2 separate regions of the Homo sapiens genome follow, and region 1 is linked to region 2. The links are contacts of gene promoters, found by promoter capture Hi-C in blood cells and fetal thymus (Javierre and others, 2016). All regions are on one chromosome and are shown on one strand. Each heading gives the region's core, a stretch centred on a gene start or on the middle of the fragment in contact. The rest is flanking DNA. Distances are from core to core; before and after follow the strand shown. Region 1 overlaps PARP11-AS1 (PARP11 antisense RNA 1). Region 2 holds the start of FGF23 (fibroblast growth factor 23).

What was found. Contacts are between HindIII fragments. The CHiCAGO score rates a contact against its expected background, and 5 or more counts as called.
Region 1: a contact is called between a fragment that was not itself captured here and the fragment with the promoter of FGF23 in region 2, in 1 of 17 cell types (endothelial precursors). The highest score is 5.6, in endothelial precursors.

What each region holds. Positions count from the first base shown.
Region 1 is chr12:3,895,399-3,898,374 of GRCh38, forward strand. All of the region lies in intron 1 of PARP11-AS1 (PARP11 antisense RNA 1), which reads left to right. Among named protein-coding and RNA genes, the nearest start is that of PARP11, 23 kb to the left of the region's middle. The HindIII fragment of the contact is 880 bases long and covers 974-1,853 here.
Region 2 is chr12:4,378,313-4,381,225 of GRCh38, forward strand. FGF23 (fibroblast growth factor 23) reads right to left here and starts at 1,400. Exons shown (of 3, transcript NM_020638.3): 1 at 1,060-1,400. The coding sequence starts at 1,270. The HindIII fragment of the contact is 6,643 bases long and covers 1-2,551 here.

The DNA.
Region 1 (2,976 bases), core at 164-2,663, 480 kb before region 2:
TCATTCTAACTACCAGCCCCCATTCTGGACTTACCCCTTGAGGTCTGTGTTTCTGTGATGTTCTATGCACTGGGTATCCCTCTAACACCAGAACCAAGATGAAAAAACAGATTTCCTGATCCTCAGCCTAGGTTCTGTCCACTCTATGATCTACGACGTGCATATTTTCAATGGTCTGTTAGTGGTGTCTAACCACGAAGGCAGGCTTAGCCAGACATTCTGATCGTGCCCAAGAGTCCTATTTAGAAGGTCATATGAACAGGCTCTCTTGCCCATACATACAGGCTTTAAAAAGTTGAATGATGTTCTTGTTAGACTCTGTGGTTTAAGAAACACAGTGCAAAAGGGAGTCCATTATTGGGAATGGAGGATCCTGGGACAAGCTGAGTGAAACAAGCACACTCTTTTTCGGAACCTCTTAAGATTCTGGGAGGCCCTTTCCAGGGGAATAATAAGGCCGAATTGAGTGCAAGAGACATATCTTTGATTTTCATAACCTTTGCTCCCTTCTTTTCCATATGGCAGAAGGCTTTCTCTCAGAAACCAGGAAAAACAATGGAGTATCAGCATAGCCTAAGGCAGTGCAAACTCAAACATCTAACAGGACCAAGCGGGGAATATAAATGAGGGGGAAGGTGGGGATTGGGGCAACCTGGAGAGGGCAGATCGCCACTACTCCACTTGGCCAATGGTTTCCATGGGGGAAATGTAGGGCCAGAGGTTCTCAAAAGTAGCTAGGATTCTAGAAGTGAACGTAAAATCTCCTAAGTTATAAATGTCGGCAATAAATCTAAACATTTTTTTAAATGCCATAGGGTCCAAAAAACACATCTTTGGGTGGAATGGTTTTGTGAGCTGCTTACCTATACCCGTAATGTAGGAAAAAGCACATGAGCAGTCCAATCACACTGCCTGAGTTTGACCCTTGGTTCTACCCACTGGTTTACAAAGTTACTCTAAGTCACTTAACTTAAGCTTCATTTTTCTCCATCTCTAAATCAGGACAGTGCTTCCAGGACTGACATGAAGATTAAATGAAAGAACGTAGTTGCTACTCAATATTAATTGTCCTTGTTTTTTGGATCTCTGCTCCCTCCCTTTTTTCTCATTGCACAATGAACTAGAAAAAACAGTTCCTCCACATTCTTATTTAAAGCAAACTAAGCAACGCTTTTTATCATTTGTCAGATTTTTTTTTACCATGATGAGCCTAAATACACTGTACTGGTTTCTAATCAGACCTCATTTGCAGCTGTGATTTTTGTGGTGGTTGTTGTTGTTGTACTATTTTGTTTTGTTTTGTTGTTTTGTTTTCAAAGAATGAGAGGACAGAAGAAGCATTAAAGCAACATTCTTTCCAAAATTAAATTCTGGCAATACAGTCTCCAGTGATCCTGACTAGGAAGCAAAGGGAAGACCCCGAGCCAGCAGGGGAAGCCCTCCAGCACTCTCAGGTTTTCAAAGAGCCTTTACAAAAGCACTAAGCAGGGCACATCACCGGAGAAGAAAAGCAAAGAGTGTCACAGGCTTGTAGCCATAGTGTTAGCAAGGCTGGGGCTCAGAATGAGCTGAGACTTGCAAAAAATGCTCAGGAACAGCAAAAAGAGCTTTGTGCAAGTATATTCTGAGCAGGAAGAATAGGGAAGGGCCAGATCCTGTGCTTGGGGCAGATGGTGTAATGCTAGCAGATGACAGATACAAAGCAGAATTATGCAACTCCTACTTAGCTTCCATCATCTCTATCTCTCAGAATGATCTTCAAACTGGAAAGAACAATATAAACACTGCAAAGAAGCAATTGCAGCCCTAGTTATGAAGCTCTTTAGAAAATGAATACCTGGGCTCTCTAAATAAGCTTAGATCTCCAGGCCCTGACAAATTCCATCCCTGGGGACTGAAAGAATTTGTAGATTTAATCATAGAATGATTGTCAGTAATCTTTCAGGAATCTCAGGAGTGATGCCAGAAGATTAGTGATGGGCAACTGTCCGAGTTGTCAAAAGGGGAAATATGTAGGTTTGGGGAACTTTGCACTGTTGAGTTTAACTTTGATCCCCAGCAAACTGTAAGCTGCATTATTAAGGAGTTAGATTACAATCGCTTTGAAAAGGAAGTGGTAATCTCAAGAAGCCAGCACAGGTTATGTAGAACAAACCATGTCATACTAACATCACTTCACATTTTTTTCTTTTTTGAAAGATTACCAAAACTCTCAAGATTGTCCCAGAGGTAGTGAATCTTTCAACAGGGCTTCCGACAACACATTTTATGGTACAATGAATGGATAGGGCCTGGGTGATCTATGGCTTGGTGAAGGCACAGCTAGGCAAACCATTGTATCCAAAAAGCACTGGACAGGCGGGGCCAAGTCAACTCAGAGAGAGGTGTAGCACAAGATGCCGCTAGTCCTTGTTTGGTGCCCGGTTCTGTGAAAATCCTTTCAATGACATGAAAGAGATGCCAACATATAAATATGAGTTGACACAAAATGAAGAAGTCTAAGTAATATGCCGCATGACAGAAACAGGATATGGTGGTTTGCCTGAACAAGGAGCCAAAATAAGCATGATGGAATTTAATGGAGAAAATGCAAGTTCTTCATATTGATTAAAAAAAAAAAAACTCAGTTATTCAAATTATTGACAATAGTTAATGGGAAAAAGTCTTGAAGATTGTAGTTAACAAAAAGCCCAACATGAGCCAAAAAATTCTGACATGGCTACAAAACAACTAGTGTTTGCCAGGTAGCATAAGGGGAATTGTAACAGGCAGAGCAAGGGTGATGAGGGTGCCATTGGCCCATCTGCCTCAGAGCATGAGGGCTTATTCCTGGTACCATGTTTCTTCTTCACATTCAACTTTGTGGTCTTTGTATTTTGTAAATCACGAAAGCAAAATATATTCATAGTAGAAAACTTAGAAGTACAGAAATGTATGAAGAAGAAAACGAAAATTAGCTCTCATCATTTGGAGATC
Region 2 (2,913 bases), core at 150-2,649:
TTTCTTTAGTTAGAGATTGTCTAACTAATTTTTCTTTCCTTTAATTTGAGCTATATTGGATCAGTTTGCATTTTTCTGTATGCTTTGAGGTGTTTTCTCACGTTTTCTTAAAATAGAAGATCCAGTCTTTTTCAATATCTATCCCTGCTTTCACCACATTACCCCTTATATAGGTGCACACAAAGGGACCCTCATTTGAATCATTGCTAATGGATTGATTATTGTGGATTGTGATCCAATTCTCCACAAACCTGATCTTTAAAAACATTCCAGTTGTCTCATGTTGCCAATAAGTTTCTAACTAGCTTGACTTGCTACTGACTGGACACCTTTCAGTTCCACAGAGAAGAATCACCAACTCATACTGGGTACCTGGGTACCTGGGTGTCTGAAACACCCATTAAACCTGTTGGATGGATGGATGGATGGATGGATGGATGGATGGATGGATGGATGGATGGATGCATGGACAAATGAATGGGTGGATGGGTTGTATACTTGGCCATTCTCACCAAGACAACATACATGGACAGTCTGTCTTTAATACATTTTTCCAAGAATTTTTATAAGGCCAGAGTTGGAAAGAGCCCCCAGATTTATCTATAACAATCTGGGTATGACCCAGGAATCTTTACAACCTCCCTAGTTAACCCAGTCCAAAGTCCATGAGCTGAAACTTAGTGTCTGTTGATCTGCCTGGCTTCTTTTTCTCTTAGACTCCTTGCCTTTCTTTCTGTACATTTTTTCAATCTTTTGACGGGGCAAAGGGAACATGGCTCCTACTGTGGGAAGGGTTTTAGTTGAAATAAAAATTATTCATATTGAGAAAAACCAGCAAATGCTAATTAGGAGAGTGACAGAATCTTCCCCTAAGTTTTAAATACACACGCACACACACACACACACAAACACACACACACACAAAGACAATAAGTGGTTCCTGGGCAGAAAGCTAGGAGGGTTGGATTAGCCCTCCAGTCTAGTCCCCAACCTCCCCAAGCCTCCTGTAGATGGACAACAAGGGTGCTCCCCTTCTTCCCAGCCTGAAGCCCTACTCACTGTAGATGGTCTGATGGGGTGCGCCATCCACATGGCCATTCTTGTGGATCTGCAGGTGGTAGCTGTTCCTGGCTGTGGCTGTGTACAGGTGGATCAGGCCACCCCAGCTGGAGCCGAGCAGTGGGGAGGCATTGGGATAGGCTCTGAGGACGCTCATGCTGCAGACGCTGCACAAGGCACAGACCCAGAGCCTGAGGCGGGCCCCCAACATCGTGCCCTGCTCTGAGTGGCTGGTGCTGAGATTGAAACCTGACACTCCTGTCGGGACTCTCCTGGCCCAGGCCTTACTGGCCTTTTCCTTCTCCCTTGCAAGTAGCTGGTGTGAGGATCCTAGACTGGATTCCCTCCTTTTTGCCGTCAGACTTTTAAAGGGTAGCAGTGTGACATCAAACAGGAAAAACTCCACTGTCCACATCCTCTGTGTTGTAATCAGCCCATTGAAAGAAAGTGCAAAGACCCCGGAGGCGCACGGAAGGCACGTCGGTTCCAGACACACACACCCCTCAATTTCAAGCCAACGCTCCAAAAAATGAATGACGTGTGGGCAAAAGTTATCTGCCACTCTGGGCTGTCTGTTGACCTGTCCCACTTCCATCAGGAAATGTGAAGGCAGCCAGCGGTTCCCAAAAAAAATCCAGCTTCAGTCAAGCAGTCAACCGACTCCTAGGCAATTAATCTCCTGTCGAGTTTACTTATTTTGGTTTTCTTTAAATTCCAATCAGCAAGTATGTATCCAGTGCTTAATCTGTGAGCAGGATTTGGTGGGTAGCTTGCAGGATATAGAGATACATGACACCATCAGGCAGATGGCATCCTCTAAGAACACCCACTTCATGAAAGATGGGAGCTAGGAGCAGGGGCACAAAAGCCAAAGTTGCCATTTTGGGAAGATTTTGAAATGGAAGAAAAAGAAGTAAGGCCTTGAGGTCAGTGAACATGCCAAGGTTCAGTTTCTCAGCTTCCTTAGTCTGGACTTCACTGAATATGCCAAGGTTCAATTTCTCAATTTCCCTAGTTTGGACTATCGAGGGCAACTAAACTAGTAGTCTCTCCAGTAGTAAGGAGACTCATTCAGAGACCTCATGGGGATTGGAACAGCTGCTGGCTGAGCACTGGGGATCCGAGCCTCAGGACAGGGTGTCCCCACATTTAGTGTCTGTACATGAGTGCTCAGCTTGGTGTTGGATGCCTGCCTGCAGATGCTGTTCACAGTGAGCCCTCTGGGAAGCTACACCTGATGTCGGGTGGAATAGTCCTGGCACATACAGTCTAAAGGGGAGCAAGCTACTGGAACACACACCCGAAAAAACACACAAGGAGTTTGCTATTCTTCCAGTTTCCCTGTACTGAGTATATGCCATGTACAGGCATCAAGCTAGACTCATGTACAGGTTGATATAGGAGACAGCAAGATGTGATTCCTATCTTGAGGAGCTCAAATCTAATGCAGGAGGCAGATAAAAATAAGTAACTATAATACAAAATGAGTGCAAGCTTACAGGTATAGACAGAAAGAGATGGCATTTGTTACCCTACATTTGTACAGTTTTTTTTTATAGTTTACAAAGCATTTTCACATCTATTAGCTTATTTGAACCTCACTGCCACTCTGTGAGATAGGCACTCCATGCATTATCAAGATTTTAATACTTTACATGAAGAAATGGAAATCTTAGTGTTTCCATGTCCAAAGGCACAAAGCAAATAAATGGTAGAGCCAGGACAAGGTCTTCTCCTTCCCTAGGCTGCTTCTCCAAAGAATCACAGCAAGAACTAACGCTCATGGAGAGCTTACTGTTCCACTTACTGCTCTAAGTGCTTTACTTGTAGTAACCCATTTCATCTTCAGAATAA